Regions from separate parts of the Homo sapiens genome. Here regions 1, 2, 3, 4 and 6 are each linked to region 5. Evidence: promoter capture Hi-C in 16 types of primary human blood cells and fetal thymus (Javierre and others, 2016). All regions are on one chromosome and are shown on one strand. The core of a region is centred on a gene start or on the middle of the fragment in contact, and the rest is flanking DNA. Distances in the headings are between cores, read along the strand shown. Region 1 has its middle 5.2 kb from the start of KRTAP17-1. Region 2 holds the start of KRTAP9-6 (keratin associated protein 9-6). Region 3 holds the start of KRTAP29-1 (keratin associated like protein 29-1). Region 4 has its middle 7.9 kb from the start of KRTAP9-7. Region 5 holds the start of KRTAP3-1 (keratin associated protein 3-1). Region 6 has its middle 6.9 kb from the start of KRT33A.

Region 1 (2,753 bases), core at 154-2,653, 310 kb before region 5:
CCTTCTGAGTAGCTGGGACTACAGGCATGCACCACCACACCCAGCAAATTTTTTATTTTTTAATTTTTTGTAGAGGCAGGATCTTGTCAGCAAACTTCATTTAATAGGCAGTCAAGTTCCCCAATTAGGAAAACTAGGATTTTTTTTTTTTTTTGTAAAGCAGTATCTGCCACACACCAAAGTAAATTCCTGATGGATAGCAGCATTAAGTATAAAAAATACAACCATAAAATAGATGAAAATAAAGCAAATAGTTGTCTGATTTGGGGATGGAGGAGAACTTTTGAAACAAAACACTAGGAAAAAAAGATTTCCCTACATAGAAAGAAATTTCTGTGCGTAAAAATATAGACACAACTAAAAGAAAGTGATACACCCTGGGACAAATTTTGCAACATGTGTGAGTGACACAACGAAAAGTTAATATACCTGGCATAATAAAATAAGTTCATATAAGTAAGGTGGGAAAGATGGGTAGCTAATTAGAATGAGCAGATAATTTCTAAAAAGGAAATAACAGTGGCCTATAAAAATATGCAATGATAATTACTAAGTACAAATAAATACTATAATGAGACTTCATAATTGGCCTACCCAATTGACAAAGAGATTTTAAAAATAACAACTAATATTGGCGAAGGCACTGTGAAGTGAACACAAATGAGGACAATTTTTCTGGAGAGTAATTAAAAAAATAATTTCAACTTTTCTTTTGGATTCAGGGGGTATACGTGTAGGTTTGCTACCTGGGTATATATGCTGAGGTTTGTGGTACAATTGATCTCATCATCCAGATAGTGAGCATAGTAACCAATAGTTAGTTTTTCTACCCTTGCTCCTCTCCTTCCCTTTCCCCTCTCATAGTCTCCAGTGTCTATTGTTGCCATATTTACGTCCATGTGAATTCACTGTTTAGCTCCCACTTGTAAGTGAGAACACATGGTATTTAGCTTTCTGTTCTTGTATTAATTCACTTAGGATAATGGCCTCCAGCTGCATCCATGTTGCTGCAAATGACATGATTTTTTTTTTTATGGCCAGGTAGTATTCCATGGTGTATGTGTGCCACATTTTCCTTACATAGTCCACTGCTGATGGGCATTTAGGCTGATTCTATGTCTTTGCTATTGTGAATAGTGCTGCAATGAACATATAAGTGGATGTGTGTTTTTTTGGTAGAACGATTTATTTTCTTTTGGATGTATACCCAGTGATATAATTTGGATCTGTGTTCCTGCCCAAATCTCATGTTCAGTTGTTAATTCCCAGCGTTGCAGGTGGGTCCTGGTGGGAGGTGATTGGATCACAGGGGTGATTTCTGATGAATGGTTTAGCACTAGCCCCCTTGGTTGTGATAGTGAGTGAGTTCTTGTGAGATCTGGTCATTTAAAAGTGTGTAGCATCTCCCCACTCTCTCTCTTCCTCCTGCCCTGGCCATGTGAAGTGCCAGCTACCCTTTGCCTGCTGCCATGATTGTAAGTTTTCTGAGGCCTCCCCAGAACCTGAGAAGATGCCTGCATCATGCTTCCTGTATAGCTTATGAAACTGTGAGCCAATTAATCCTCTTTTCTTTCTAAATTACCCAGTCTCAGGCATTTCTTCATAGTAGTGCAAGAACAGACTAATACACCCAGTAATGGGATTGCTGGGTTGAATGGTAGTTCTATTTGAAGTTCTTTGAGAAATCTCTAAACTGCGTTCCACAGTGGCTGAACTAATTTACATTCCCACCAACAGTGTATAAGCGGTCCCTTTTCTCTACACCCTCACCAACATCTGTTGTTTTTTGACTTTTTAATAATTGCCATTCTGACTGGTGTGAGATGGTATCTTACTGTGGTTTTGATTTGCATTTCTCTGATGATTAATGATGTGGAGCATTTTTTCACATGTTTGTTGACCACTCGCATGTCTTCTTTTGAGAAGTGTCTGTTCATGTCTTTTGCCCACTTTTTAACAGGGTCATTTGTTTTTTCCTTGTTGAATTGTTTAAGTTTTTCATAGATTCTGGATATTAGATCTTTTTTGGATGCATAGTTTGTGGATATTTTCTTCCATTCTATAGGTTATCTGTTTACTCTGTTGATAGTTTCTTTTACTGTGCTGAAGCTCTTTCATTTAAATAGATCCCACTTGTCAATTTTTGTTTTTGTTGCATTTGTTTTTGAGAACTTAGTAATGCATTTTTTCCCAAGACTAGTGTTCAGAATGATGTTTCCTAGTTTTTCTTCTAGGATTCTTATAGTTTGAGGCCTTACATTTAAATCTTTAATCCATCTTGAGTTAATTTTTCTATATGGTGAAATACAGAGGTTGTTTAATTCTTCTGCATATGGCTAGCCAGTTATCCCAGCACCATTTATTGAATCGGGAGTCCTTTCCCCAATGCTTATTTTTGTTAACTTTGTCAAAGATCAGGTGGCTGTAGGTGAGCAGCTTTATTTCCGGATTCTCTATTCTGTTCCATTGTATATGTCTGTTTTTGTACCAGTACCATGCTGTTTTGGTTACTGTAGCTTTACACTATAGTTTGAAATTGGGTAACGTGATACCTTCCACTTTGTTCTTTCTGCTTAGGATTGCATTGGCTCTTTGGGATCTTTTCTGGTTCCATATGAAATTTAGAATAGTTTTTTCAAATTCTGTTAAAAATGATGTTGGTAGTTTGATAGTGTTGATTCTGGAGCCATGTTGCAACAGATACTGTATACTTACATCATTTTATATATATCTTGATATATCCCTGTCGTAAA
Region 2 (2,811 bases), core at 243-2,742, 260 kb before region 5:
GAGAGTTAAATGTAAGTGTTCTTGGGCAGAAAGAGAAGCTCTCACCTTGGACTAGAGTCTGTCCTTTATTAGCTACATAAAATCACACACTAAATTGTTCTCAGCTGAAAAATTGAGGTAATAATACATAATAATAACTCTGTTTTCAGAATCAAATTGGATAATACATATAGCATGCAATATGTGTGTAAATCTCATATCAGCAATTCTGTAAAATAAAACACCATATGAGATGAAGGATGGTTCAGAATTTATTCAGAAATATATAGGTAAGAATCCCTGCTACTAGGGACATAGCCCAAAGTTACAATGAAAAGAAGAAAGAAGGGTAAAAGAAACATGAGGACAAAATTGAAAACAAAAATATGATTGCAAAGATTATTGATCAGTTGCAGAAACCTAAGTTTCTTAGAAGGAGAGAATGAAGCTCTTGACTTTAGAGTCGAATGGAGACCATGTCTCCACATTGAGAACACATGAAGCTGGCACATGATCCACAAAGTGTAAGGAAAAAAGAATCAGGATGAAGTATTCTGCCCTCCCTCAAGCTGATTCCCAAGATTTTAAACAGGCAAAGAAATAAAAAAAATTGGTGAAAGCATACTGTGTATCAGTAAAGTTTGAAAGTAAATCTGTCTTCTGAAAGATAAGTGAGTTGGGTCTGGGTGTGGTAGCTCACACCTGTAATCCCAGCACTTTGGGAGGCTGAGGCAGGTGGATCACCTGAGGGCAGGAGTTCCAGACAAGTCTGATCAACATGGTGAAAACTACTAAAAATACTAAAAATACAAAAAATTAGCCAGGCGTGGTGGCACAGGCATGTAATCCCAGCTACTCAGGAGGCTGAGGCAGGAGAATCACTTGAACCCAGAAGATGGAGGTTGCAGCGAGCCGAGAGCGTGCTACTGCACTCCAGCCTGGGTGACAGTGAGGCTCCGTCTCAAAAGAAAAAAAAGGTCAGTTGAGCAGAAGGTTGTTGTGTGAGGATGATGGTCCTCTGTGGTGCTGCTCAGCAACAAGAATGCTGGCAGCAGCTGGACACACAGCAGGCTGGGCAGTAGCAGGGCTGGCAGCAGCTGGATCCACAGCTCTGGTTGAGGCAACCAGGCAGGCAGACAGTCGTGGGGTGGTAGCAGGTTCTTCTGCAGTACACAGGTGCACAGGAGCTGCTCTGGCCACAGCTGGACCCACAGCTGGTTTGGCCACAGCAGCTGGACCCACAGCAGATGGGCTGGTAGCAGGGTGTGCTGCAGCAGGAAGGCTGGCAGCAGCTGGTCACACAGGTGGGCTGGCAGCAGGTGGTCCTGCAGCAGGTGTTTTGACAGCAAGTTGGGTGGCAGTAAGGCTGGCAGCAGCTGGACACACAGCAGGAGGGCTGGCAGCAGGGTGTGCTGCTGCAGGTGGTCACAATGGTGGGCTGCCAGCAGGTAGTCCTGCAGCAAGTGGTCCTGCAGCAGGTAGGCTGACAGCCAGGGGAGCAACAGTGGGTCATGTTGTCAGGGGTGGAGGGTGGGCTTCTGTTCAGAGGTGAGTTTCCCAGGATTTGATGACCCCTTGCAATCTGGACCTTTTATACATGTGGCCTCCAAAGTTTCCACCAATCAGCAGGATTTTTCTTTCTTGCTGTTTACAGTTGTTTTCCATAGTCAGTTTGGCATTGTCAAAGAGGAAGTCATTTCCTAAATGTTATGAATCTTTGGAAAGTAAGGGTTTAATCTGTTTCTTAATTGTAAATTACTCGTAGAAACTTTGTTTCAGATAAAAGGAAGGCAGTCTCATCATCAGCTTCGTTCCTGCTCTGACCAGCATCTCGTCATGTGATAGTTCCTGGTGACTGGGGAGGCTCAGGAAGTTCTCTCTGCCCAGTCTCATCCTTTGGCTGTATGTAGACTGGGAAGTGTCTGTGGGGAGAAGCATGATGTTGATATATTCACAGTGGTGAATTGAATCCATGCTTGGGACCAAGACTGTTCACCCACCAAAGTCTGATTCAAGACTGATAGGCATCTCTCTATGTACAACCTACTTTACCTGTCTCTTCCAGTTCTATAAAAGCCTCTTGGGAAGAGGGTGTTCAGCACAATGTGTGCTATGTGGCAGAGCAGAGCCAAAGCAAACACGTAGAAAGAGGAGGGGTTCACTGGAATTCACAAAGCATCAAGCAATCTACGTGCTGCGGTGACCATTCACCCTGATTTGTCTGGGACTGAGGGGCTTACCAGCATGAGAATGTGGGACTGGGAATTACTGTGACATTACTGCTTGAGGTCCAGGCAAAGCAATATGAGCTGTGGCTCTAGCCCTAATCCAGGTTACTGGCACAATCATTGCCATTTCTCTGTCTCTGTCTCTGTCTCTGTCTCTGTCTCTGTCTCTCTCTCTCTCTCTCTCTCTGTCTCTCTGTTTTCAGTGAGGGAATTAGGTGAGTTGAGATGATATCTGATTCCTCTTTGAGGTTTACCATTGTTTAAAACTTTTTAAATTATACCATTCATTTCAGAAGAGTGCAAATTATGAATTCCAACTTGATATAATATTACATTATAAATACATCTAAGTCCCCATTACCAGTTTACAAAATAGAAATTAATTCCATTCCCTCCAAATTATATCTTTTTACTTATCTCCAAAGGTAGCTAGTCACTCTATCAAGTTTTAATCCTGTAGGTCAGTTTTGTTTTTTTCTTTGACTTTTATGTAAATAAAAATTATAGAATTTGCTTCACTGTGTTTTTGGCATAATCAAAAGCAGCAATTATAACCTGGTCATTTCATTTTGGATCCTTCATGTTAGCAGACCAGCAGGTAGAT
Region 3 (2,753 bases), core at 171-2,670, 290 kb before region 5:
GACCTGGTTGGTGATGCGGAGCCAGGACAAGCCCGGAGGAAAAGCAGAAGGGCCAAGAAAGTCCCTCACGAATTCCTCTTGGAAGGGATTGGTTTAACATTAACACCACTTTACAGTGATTTTTTTTATTATCACTGCTGGCGTGTTTTTATTTGTATAGAATTCATATGCTATTGATGCCCTAGGGTGGGTTTGATACTTCCTGATGAAATATTTGGTAGTTTAAAAAATTTCCAAAATTAAAAGACTGTGTTTGAGTGTATTGATAAGTAGAGGTAAGTACTCACACCAGTGTGGTCTAGCTGCTGATTACAGTCACTGGAGTGGGCGGAGGATCCCCAGGATGGGGCCTGGGCAACCTGCTCACGAGCCAGTCTGTTGCCATAGGGGTGTCAGCCTGCAGCCACTATATCAGTGTCGCCTTCTCCCTGCCTCCCCAAAGTCAGGGGGTCTAATAGGTGGTTAAGATCAGGGGTTTGGTGGTCAGACAAAGCTAGGTTTGAATTTTGTTTCTACCCCTTTTCATTTGCATAATTTTGGGAACATGATTTAAACTCTATGAGTTTTGCCACTTCTGTTTTCTTCTTTTCTGTTCTAAAAAAATCTTGAGAGGAACCAATTTGGGGGAGATTTTAAGCTTCCTAAAAGGGCCAATGAAGTTTTATATTTTAATCTTAACTTTGTTTTAAACCTGGTTTCTTCTTTATTTATTACTTTTTTTTAGTTTTGCCACTTCTAACATAGTGATGACAATTATACTTACTGAAGTCATTGTGAGGATCCAGTGAAAAATGCAGCCAAGGACTTGATCTAGTAACTATGCAATAAATGAAAGCCATTTCTATTGTTATTATTAGTAATAGTACTAGTAAACAAGTTTCAGGAATGATAAATGGGAAGGTTTTAAAAAGAGGTAGAGGCACTTAAGTGTCCCTGGGTTCCTTGGACTAATTTTCCATTTCCCGTCTTGACATCCTCTCCCCAAACTGGGTCAAGGCTTCATTTCTGATTGAATGGTGCAAAGCTGCATTCCTGGAGGAACAGCAGGGCCACTCTGGCTTGGCAGAGGCCTCCTGATGAAAGGTTAGTGCCAGGAAAGGCCTGCTTCAGTGAGGCTGGAGAGCAACCTGTAAAAGAGACAGCTCATCCAAGAGCAGGAGCAGTGTCAACGAATCCAAATGCAGCGCAGAAAACTCCCGACTCAACAGACACCTTTTCAAAGTTGAAACATCTCCCAGGCTCCTGAAGCCTGCTAATCAGATGTTTGCATGCAAATGAGTAAAAACAATAACAAGGAAAGATGCTGCATGGCGTGCCAACACCCCTAGTGAAGGACTATAAAAGCCCCTCTGTATCGGATGTCTTTCCAATGCAGGTATACTGAGCTTGCAACTTCCCAGCAAGGTCAGCACCAGCACCATGGCAGACGGCTGTTGTCCTGGAAACACCACAGCCATTCCAGCTGTGCCCACCATCACCACATACCCAGTTAAAGGTGGATTTCGACATGCTCTCTGTTTGCCTAGTTCCTGCCACAGCAGAATGTGGCAACTGGTCACATGCCAAGAAAGCTGTCAGCCATCCATTGGTGCCCCAAGTGGCTGTGATCCTGCTTCGTGTCAACCTACCCGCCTTCCAGCAACGTCTTGTGTGGGTTTTGTTTGCCAACCTATGTGCTCCCACGCAGCCTGCTATCAGTCTGGCACTGGTCAGTCTCCTTGTCTGGTTAGCTCATGTCAGCCATCCTGCTCGGAATCTACTTGTTGTCAGGAAAAGTGCTGCGATGCCAGTCCCTGCCAGCAAAGCTCCTGCCAGGAATCTGTCTGCATGTCTGGATCATGTCAGGCAGCTTGTGGCCAATCAGTCTGCTGTGATGCTGGATCCTGCCAGCCATCCTGCTCTGAAGTGACCTCCTGTCCGGAAACTTCTTGCCTACCAACCATCTGTACAGCTAGTCCATGCCAACCAACTTGGTGCCAAGGAAGTTCATGTCAACCCGTCAGTGGTGAAGGCCAGCCCTGTAAATCAACTTATTATCAACCCATCTGCTATATTTTCAAGCCTTGCCAATCAGCCCTCTACATGCCTGTTCCCTGCCAGCCATCGACTTGTGTGTTCAGTTCTTGCAATACTACTTGCTGTGTGCCTTCCCATTGCCAGCCACCTCACTGCCAACTGGTTCCTTCCACATGCTTCATCTACCAGCCAGTGGCTAACTGCCAGGCCCCTTGTTCCACAAAGAACTGTTGCAAACCAGCTTCTTGTGACACTGTGATTTCTGGCCAACCAACTTGTGATGGACCCCCTTCCTATAACCAGAGTGGCTGCAAATCAGCTTGCTGTGTGACTGGTTTAGGCACATCACCCAGTAGTGGCTCCAATTGCTTGCCGACTTCATGCCAACCCAGCTGTGAGTCCAGCTTCTGCAAGGCAACACTTTGTTAATGGAGCCCTCTTCACACCTCCTCTGAGGGTCTGCGGCTGTCTATAAATGCATAGCCATCCCTGGGTGCCTGCCTCCCACCGAGTACAAATGCTGCCTGCTTTCTAACTTTACCCTGATTCCACCTTCACATTCTCTCCAGGTGCTGACCAGGGAACTTGTCCAGGCACGAAGAGATCCTTCTTAACCGAGAATAACCTTTCAGCAACCATGGACTACCACACTGCTGCTTGCATTTCCTGATGATGTCAATTCATTTCACTTTAGCAAACCCTCTCTTGTTTCTCTTTCTTGATGCTGCCTGGTCTTT
Region 4 (2,944 bases), core at 116-2,615, 270 kb before region 5:
CAAAACGATCAAAACCAAATTATGTAGCGTCACCTTAAAAAGATGTATGCATTCAAAGTCTGAGGAATTGATTCAAGTCTAATTGAAGATGTAAAAATGTGAAAGTTAAATTAGAGTATTGTTGAACCATGGAAAATCAGGGTTAAGACAAGTGCTGGGGTGAATGTTGGCAGTGTGCCTCCAGGCAACTGCCCACAGGAGAGGGACTATGAATTTTCAATTTCCATTGGTGAGAACTATTGTGAAACGAACATGTCAAATGCCATTCAACATTTAGTTTATATAACTTCCTGTCTGATTCCTTACTCATGTGGTGTTTTAGAAGTTCCTGTTACTTAATTCTCCTGTAATTTAATAAATAGGCATCCTTGCTTTTTGGGCTTGGCTAACAGGTGTCTGCTCTAAGACGTGGCTTAACCCTTAGAATGTAAGCAAAATCAGGTCTCTGAGTCTGCAAGGCTAAAGGCCAGAACCAGGTACATTTATCAAGGGTTGTGAATTCTACCTTGCATGCCATTGGGGAGATAGTCCTTATTTTTTTTTTTTTTTTATCTCCAAGGGAATGCCAATTATCATGACAGTGTGTATGCTTTCTTTAAAGCATTATGTATGTGAATGCTTACGGAGTTCAGAGAATAACAACCTGTTAGCAATTAATTAATCAAATAATGATGGGGCAAGACAGAGTGTTTAAGGATCTCAAAGAATCTCAGGCATGGAAGGAATCCTAATAAACTTCCTGCCATGTGTTGCCAGATCCAATGCTTAAGTGTCTAGTAAATGGAAATTCATACACCCGGGGTGGTCTGTTCCATTCCTAGGAAGATCTTTTAAAGAGCTTTTAGAGAATTTCTGTACTCACTCTAGACCCCCTGAACTTTTTCCTCATTAGAAGCATCTGTGACTAAGCAATCAGAATGGCTTTTCTGAGCGCTTCCCTACCCTTAGCTCCATCCTCTATTCCAGTGCCCTTTGCTGGAAAATCACATTCATGTTCCTGTAAATAGCCAATTATCTTCCTGCTCTGTAGAATGCAGTTCCAGCCAAACAAGCATTTCCTTGCCTTGCTATCACAAATTTTTACATGGTCCTTTTGCAGCAAGTTTATCATCACTAACCTTTGCTTACCAAGTCCTTCTCATTGTTAAAATCTAGATCAAGGTGGTTTACCTGGTTGCCTAAGAACCTTCTGCTCAATTTTAGTGATTCTGAGGTCCCCACAAAATAGCTAGATTGTTGGATGTTCCTTCATCCCTTCTCCTCCCATGTGTGCTGGTTTTGTGATCTGCCTTTGCAATGTATCATCAATTTCCTGTGTTTGGCCAGGAAGACTGCAGTATGTCCACACAAAGAGAGCTCATGGGTTCATCTTCCCTTCTTTGTTCATGCACAGGTTTTCCACTGTGGAAGAAGGCAGGAAAGTCTGGGCCATGAGGATCGAAATCACATAGATGAGTATTTGCATCATGCCTGTTCTGCTACCTACAAGCTGCAGGCTTTGGGGGAAGTACTTAATATATTCCAACCATGTTTTATTGTTTCTGCATTTACATTTTTGGGGAATTTTTGTACCTGAGTTCTTTCAGTATCACCCCTGTTGTTCTACTTGGTAAATTGATTCATGGGTTCAAAATGGAAGTTTTTTATTTCCTTCCCTCTCTGATTCGTTGCTAAGATACAATTCTGTTAGATACAGTCGTCATGAACCACCCTTCCTATATCATTAATAATATAGGCTCACCTTCCTCACTTCTACTGTATAAATTTTGTCTCTTGTTTGTATTCTTCCCGAAGCACAATAAAGGTGAGGATGTTGAATGTCTCGTTCACTTCTGTAATCACAGCACCTGGCACAGTACTTAACACACAGTAAGTGCTCAATAAATCTTATTTAAATAAAGGATTGTTTTAATATCCAGATGTAAGTCTTTATTCTTATTCACTCTCCCGAAGTCCCAACTATTGGTAGAATAAGGAAATGAGACTGTGTGAGGGTACCAAGTAATTTGCTGTCATATTCAAGACTCCATAGACCCGGTTATGTCTCTAGACTGGTAGGGGCAGGGAGCATAGCACACACAGTGAGTGTAGTGTAGACAGCTTAGTGTTTGAAGCCAGGTCAACTGTTAACTGTACAACTTTGAACAAGTTCCTTCATCTCCCTTAGCCTCTGTTTCTTCATCTGTGAAATGAGGAAAATAAAACATTGGTGGATTATGAATTAGAAAAACCTAGACTAATACCTGTAGTTACTCAGTAAATGGTAGTGCCTCAGCTCATCCTTGAATGCATCAGGAGAGCAAGCACTTAGCAAGTCAGACAACATGGAAGCCTCTTTGGAAAATCCCTCCACCTTCTTAGATTTCCTAAGACCTAACTACTATGTGATAGCTCAGGCCACAGAATATTATTTTTCCCCTGGAGCCAGTATCTGTTCTTTTTTTTCAAGAAATATCTTGGTATCCTCTTTGGTGTTCAGCTCTTCGGAAAGTCTAGCTCCCACTTTGGGGGACTACAATAACGTCTATTGTCATTATATCCAGTATACTTTTTAAGAGTGACCAGTTTCCTTTATTTTCTTTCTCAAATCCTTATGTTTTCTTTTTCTAATACTCTGATGTTGAATCTCCTCTGCTTCAACTTTGCCTCACAACATTGAGGCACTGGTTGGATCAAAGCATTATATACCCATTGCTCAGTTACTTCAATTCTGAGGATTCTGTAAATATGCACTACCCTTATAATCCTCTGATTGAGAAGCTAGGTTGATCCAGCATTTGGAGCACAGAAACTGTGTCTTGTGCGCATTGCAGGGTGTTTCTTAGTCTTTTTTGTTCAAGTATTCTGCATTTTTAGGTAGAAAAGTGACCTACATGTACAAGACATTTCATTTTCATTTGTCAACAAGCAACTCAAATCATACACCTTCCCTAAAACTCAGACA
Region 5 (2,847 bases), core at 118-2,617:
TAAAGTAATTCTAAATCATCATACTAAATTTTCTACCTTTATCTACTTTTAAAACTTTATTTTTAGAGTTTTAGTGGTTTAGATGAAACTCGGAAATGTCTCTATTCTGGACCACAGAGCCTGGAAGTAAGACAGGGGTGTTCAATGTTTTGGCTTCCCTGGGCCACATTGAAAGAAGAATTGTCTTGGGCCACACATAAAATACACTAACACTAATGACAGCTGATGAGCAAAAAAAGAAAAAAAATCACAAAAAAATCTCATAATGTTTTAAGAAAGTTTATGAATTTGTGTTGTGCTGCATTCAATGCCTTTCTGGGCCACAGGTTGAACAAGCTTGCTGTAAGATGTTGCTAAATCTCCCCAAGTATGTTTCATAAAGCACTGACCTATAGAGCTAATCTCTGAAAACAAACAAAAAGCAGTCCATGGTCAAGTAAGTTTGGAGAAAAATATATGCTATATCTCTGTATTGAAAAGTCATAGAGCATTTTAGCACATTAAAGGCTCCGAGAGGCCCAACAATGAAGAATTCAGCATTTCCCAAACTTACTTACCAGAAAACACTTTCAAGTCCCTTGGAACCAGTGTTCATGGAACTCAGTCTGGTAAATACTGCATCATTTAGCTTCTGAATGGCCCAATACAACCAGCCTTTTGGTTATAAATAATCTCCATTTATAACACAGTTGGATGGAGCTTAAAGGACACCCATCTTTGTCACCCATGAAGGTCTTCATTCCCACCTGCATGTTCTTACCAAGTTATTGTTCAGAGCATATTTGAAAGGAATGCAGAACAAACGATTTGTTATAGCTCTGTTTGAAAGTGCCTCTTTACACAAAACCAAAATCTATTTCTCTATAGATTCTATCCATTCATCTTCATTCAGTTTATTGGAGCCACAAATAATAAATCTAAAATGTTATATCACTTTTTCAGCCTGAGGGCCTAAAGGATCACATAGAACCTGTAGTCACTGGTAGAACAGCAAACAAAAAGCTTACTTGTCCTCTTCATCTGAAAAGTAAACAAAAGAAGTGGGAAACGTTTGCAGATGCCTGGCATACCGAGCCATTATTAGTGAGGGTATAATGATTAGAAGATAATGGCCCGGTACCTTTGAAGACTGGAATGAAGATTTCTGTGTAGTGACACACTGGCAATGTGAATAGTCCTAATTTGACAACAAAACAACCTAAATCTCTTTTATGAGGTGAGCAGTGTATCTTAGGTAATAAACACTTAAGTAATTAGGCATTTTTTATGGAAATAACTATAAACTGAAACATGGGGGAAAAACCCTCAGTAATAGGCTGACGCCCAGGGAGATGGGTATATAAGAGCCAGAGCAGAAGAGAGGAGCATCGAGACACCAACAGACTTCTCTCAACTCAACAAAAACCCACCTCCCATTGCCATGTATTGCTGTGCTCTCCGCTCCTGCAGCGTCCCCACCGGCCCTGCCACCACCTTCTGCTCATTTGATAAAAGCTGCCGCTGTGGAGTCTGCCTACCCAGCACCTGCCCACATGAGATCAGCCTCCTTCAGCCCATCTGCTGTGACACCTGCCCCCCACCCTGCTGCAAGCCTGATACCTATGTGCCAACTTGCTGGCTGCTCAACAACTGTCACCCGACTCCCGGACTGAGTGGGATCAACCTGACCACCTATGTTCAGCCTGGCTGTGAGAGTCCCTGTGAGCCCCGCTGTTAACCAGCCGAGTCTGCACAGGTTCCGTGAGGTGGCTGCCCAATGTCCTCTGCACCATCTGGGCTTCAGCACTCACTACTGCCTACATCAAGGCTAAGGCCATCCCAATCCCCGGGGCCAAGTCTTGATGAATCTTCTTAATTATTTGCACATTTGGGTACCATTGGAGACCTCCCTTCTGTCTTTTAGGCTATTTCATCACTCTTTGAGAAATAACCATTTTGACCATTTGTTAATAAACTTTATTCTGGCTTAGCAAATATGACCTTGTGATTATTTATTTTCATGTCTCCCATTAGGGAAAGTGGAATGCCTACCTAAACCTGAACAGTAGGTTATCACACTATCCAAGATTTACCCCAACAGAATAAGAGCTCTCATAGTGGAATTTATCGAAAAAATAGATACTGGTTATTTGTGATAAGTTAAAAAGTAAAAAATGTGGTAGTTCATTTTATAGAAGCTTTTTATTTAACAGATATTTATTTAATAGATATTATTGGAAGACATCCACTGTGCAAGCACTATGCTAGAGTCTAGAGATTAACAGAATGTTTTAAAAATACTTGATTTTAGTTTCCATTGATTCTGACATTGATTTTTCTTTCTTCCTTAATTGACTAAATGAATTGATCACTGTGCTGGTGTGTATAAATAATTTGATTATCCTAGTCCTCACAGTCATCTGAAATTCTGAGCTCAAAATGCAAAGCAATTTTGAGAAGTGTATATATCCATTTCTTCATATATGCTGTCTTCCAAAACAATCCATTTTTAATTAATGTTAGCATTTATCGAGTATTCATTGATTCCTCAAATGGGGCTTACATTGGTTTACATTAGTCATGACTATGATTAGAAGTTTGCTAGTCTAAGTGACATATAATATCATGACATTGAAATATGCTTAAAATATCAGACTACAGTGTAGTATTTTCTATACACCAGAAATAGTCACACAATTCTGAGAGCAAAAACACACAGTTTCTATTAGAACAAAACTACTACGATAACCACTAATTCATGTCCTTATTTATCTTAGAAAAATCTAGGTGCAATTAGGTCTTTGCAAAAAATAAAGGTATTGTGATTATATATATATATATATATATACACACACACACACTTTTGGA
Region 6 (2,700 bases), core at 1-2,500, 330 kb before region 5:
CACACAACCATGCTGTGCTGAAATGTTTAGGTAGAAAGTAGGAAGGAGCAGCAAAGGGTAGAGGGATATAGTGGCCAGGAGGAGTGTGGGATCTGCTAGGCTGGATGGTGGGGAGGTGCCTTTGGTTCACCTTCCTCTCTTTGTTCCTGCCTCGGCACTCAAGGACTCCTTGTGACTTTCTGTAGTTCTATGATGTGGGCCTGGAACTCTATGCTGGAGTTCTCTGCTCAGTTGCCTGGGGTCTGCGTCAGATGATGGAGAACTGTGAGTGGGTTATTTGGCGGAAAAGTCTCTTTTGTCCTAGTGAGCCTTGAGCTTTGGCCCCACCTGTTTTTATTTATATGCAGTTGGGACCATCATTATGTCACATTACTGCCTTCAGTGGCATCCAGATTTGGCAATGTTTAAAAAAACAAAAACAGCAATCAAGTAAGGAAACCCAAGGCCCAGCCCACAAATGAGATTGAGTCTCATTTTTCACTTCTCTACTCCTACTTTTCTAAATCAATGATTGAAATGAAGAGATATTGAGAATGGGAACTCTTAATAGAGATTAGAATATCATCAACCTATGAGAACAGGTAGGGAGGGGCAGGAGGTAGAGTGGGGGTTGGAAATTCTCTCCAAAACTTGCAGACCATATATTTAGGTGTGGTAGAGATGTCCAGGGAAAAATACCCAAAACCTTCCATTCAGGGCTGTGGATACCAGAGGACAGCTAAGGAGACCAGCCCTCAACAGTTGCTCGTGGCCACCTTCTTCCCTTAGGTGCGGACCAGTCCTCTCTTTTGCGTTAGGGCTAACATAGAGAGAATGCTGAGTCTCAAAGATTGGTCACTCGCTACTCCATTTGTCTTCAGCAGCACAGTCCTATAGAATGGAGAACAGATGTTCCTGAGGATCTGAGAGTCTGGGCTCCTTTTTAGTGGAAGATCATGTATATAAAACATTTCTTTATTTGAGTTTGGAAGAGAAGAATCAGTAGAAAAGGTCTTTATAAACTTTAAAAATAACCTGGATAGGATACAGATTTCAATTAAATCAATGTAGAAAGTCACCTCATCATTAATCATGAATGTCTGCTGCTTGCTTGGAAGGAGGAGATAAATAATGGGTTCAGAATCCTTTCTTTCTCTCTTGTATATTTCAGCAACAATGCAGAGGCAGGAAAAAAAAAGCAAGAATTCTTAAAGGCGAGGTTCTGTTATTCAACCCTGGGCTTTCCCAGGTGCAAACTTAATTTCTCCTTTCTGCAGGTTCCCAGGTCTGCAGTCGCTGAGGTCATCAGCTCCTCGAGCCAGGCCTTCTCAGAAAACAGTGCTCTGAGGGGAGAGGCCCATAGCAAGGAAGCAAGGAAACAAGACCCTGGGAAATGTCTCCTAATCCCTGCCCCACCCTTCCCTGTGAAATAAACCATGATGGCGCTGGGCTATGAGTCTTACCCACTAGGAGATGGTGTGGGATGCTGTGATGAGAAGAAGAATTATGGCTTGTTTTGGAGGCAACATTTTTTGGTCCTGGTTTTGGATATATTGTTGACTCCCCTGACCATCAGAGTCCTCCTTTTGAGAGACCTGGCCTGGCAGCATTGTGGGGTTGTGAAGATCCCCTGTGTATGGAAGTGCTTTATAAATGGTGCAGCATGGTACCTATGTAAGACTCAGTATTCTTGTTGTTGACACTTTGACCTTGAATACGAATTCCTGGGCTCTTGGGATCTAAGTTTGATATTGTCTAGTCCCAGTAAAACATTCTACTCAGCCTCCTAACAGCCTGTTTGCTCCTATTTTTGACAGATGTGAACCGAGCTCCTATTGTCTCAGTTTGGAGAGCTTGCCTGAGAGGTGACATTTGCATTGAGACCTGAAAACAGAGAAGAAACAGAGCAGAGGGAAAGAGCTTTCCAGAGAGAGGGACAGAAAGTCAAGGAAGGGAGGGAGTAAGGCAGTTGCCTTTGAAGAAGGGAGCAAGGCCAGGGCATCGGGAGTGATGAGTAGGGGAGGAACAATCAGCCTGTATGTGTGGGCAGTGGCCAGGGTACATGGGGGCTCGCCAGTTCTGTGGAGGATCCGATTTCATTTCAAGGGAAGAGGAAAGCCTTGGGAGAGTTAAAAGGATGAATTTGATTGACACTTTTATTAAAAGGAGTGCATTGGCAGCTGAATGGAAAATAGGTTTACTGAACACTAACATTTAAAGTTTCAGGGTAGTGGATGACAATTACAAGTCAGGTATGTCTTCTTTTATGTTTCAAAGAAGAATCACTGACATCTAACAACAACTGCTCACATTTCTCATCAAAAACAGGAGAGTCTGGCAGCAGGCACCAAAAGTCCCAAGAATGGCTCCAACTATAAAAGGATATGAGGATGACATGATCTGTCCCTTGTTATTGCAAAATGCACACTGACAACTTGATGAAGTTATGTGCCAGGCAGGTGGGCCCCGGCCCCACCAGGCTCCTCGCTGAGCCTGCTGCAGGTGTGCAGAGGTAGCTTTCCCTCACTCTCACTTTTTTTTTTTAAACTTGTAGGGACAAGCACAGGACTGAAATGTAAAGTGTAGGGGGAGCCCTTGAAACTATTGCTATGGAATAAAAGATGAAATGCTCCTGATTATTGTAAATACAAAGTTGCATGCAGGATTGTGTAAAGACAATGCCAGGCTGGACTACCAGAATAAGCCAACAGCGTGTGATGT

Evidence for each region. The method cuts DNA at HindIII sites, captures the fragments that hold promoters and counts their contacts. A CHiCAGO score of 5 or more calls a contact.
Region 1: a fragment that was not itself captured here is called in contact with the fragment with the promoter of KRTAP3-1 in region 5 in 17 of 17 cell types (naive B cells, endothelial precursors, megakaryocytes and 14 more); the score reaches 16.1 in naive B cells.
Region 2: the fragment with the promoter of KRTAP9-6 here is called in contact with the fragment with the promoter of KRTAP3-1 in region 5 in 9 of 17 cell types (endothelial precursors, naive B cells, activated CD4 T cells and 6 more); the score reaches 11.8 in endothelial precursors.
Region 3: the fragment with the promoter of KRTAP29-1 here is called in contact with the fragment with the promoter of KRTAP3-1 in region 5 in 13 of 17 cell types (endothelial precursors, M2 macrophages, naive B cells and 10 more); the score reaches 17.0 in endothelial precursors.
Region 4: a contact is called between a fragment that was not itself captured here and the fragment with the promoter of KRTAP3-1 in region 5, in 5 of 17 cell types (endothelial precursors, naive B cells, total B cells and 2 more). The highest score is 7.4, in endothelial precursors.
Region 6: a contact is called between a fragment that was not itself captured here and the fragment with the promoter of KRTAP3-1 in region 5, in 7 of 17 cell types (endothelial precursors, naive B cells, megakaryocytes and 4 more). The highest score is 10.1, in endothelial precursors.

The regions. Positions count from the first base shown.
Region 1 is chr17:41,319,555-41,322,307 of GRCh38, reverse strand. No RefSeq gene overlaps it. Among named protein-coding and RNA genes, the nearest start is that of KRTAP17-1, 5.2 kb to the right of the region's middle. The HindIII fragment of the contact is 3,454 bases long and covers 1-2,753 here.
Region 2 is chr17:41,264,059-41,266,869 of GRCh38, reverse strand. It overlaps KRTAP9-6 (keratin associated protein 9-6), which reads right to left and starts at 1,492. Exons shown (of 1, transcript NM_001277331.1): 1 at 1,010-1,492. The coding sequence starts at 1,492. The coding sequence ends at 1,010. The HindIII fragment of the contact is 5,841 bases long and covers 1-2,811 here.
Region 3 is chr17:41,301,518-41,304,270 of GRCh38, reverse strand. It overlaps KRTAP29-1 (keratin associated like protein 29-1), which reads left to right and starts at 1,420. Exons shown (of 1, transcript NM_001257309.1): 1 at 1,420-2,445. The coding sequence starts at 1,420. The coding sequence ends at 2,445. The HindIII fragment of the contact is 6,603 bases long and covers 640-2,753 here.
Region 4 is chr17:41,282,077-41,285,020 of GRCh38, reverse strand. No RefSeq gene overlaps it. Among named protein-coding and RNA genes, the nearest start is that of KRTAP9-7, 7.9 kb to the right of the region's middle. The HindIII fragment of the contact is 8,650 bases long and covers 1-2,944 here.
Region 5 is chr17:41,007,648-41,010,494 of GRCh38, reverse strand. It overlaps KRTAP3-1 (keratin associated protein 3-1), which reads left to right and starts at 1,367. Exons shown (of 1, transcript NM_031958.2): 1 at 1,367-1,974. The coding sequence starts at 1,421. The coding sequence ends at 1,717. The HindIII fragment of the contact is 1,175 bases long and covers 1,005-2,179 here.
Region 6 is chr17:41,342,561-41,345,260 of GRCh38, reverse strand. No RefSeq gene overlaps it. Among named protein-coding and RNA genes, the nearest start is that of KRT33A, 6.9 kb to the left of the region's middle. The HindIII fragment of the contact is 4,681 bases long and covers 1-2,700 here.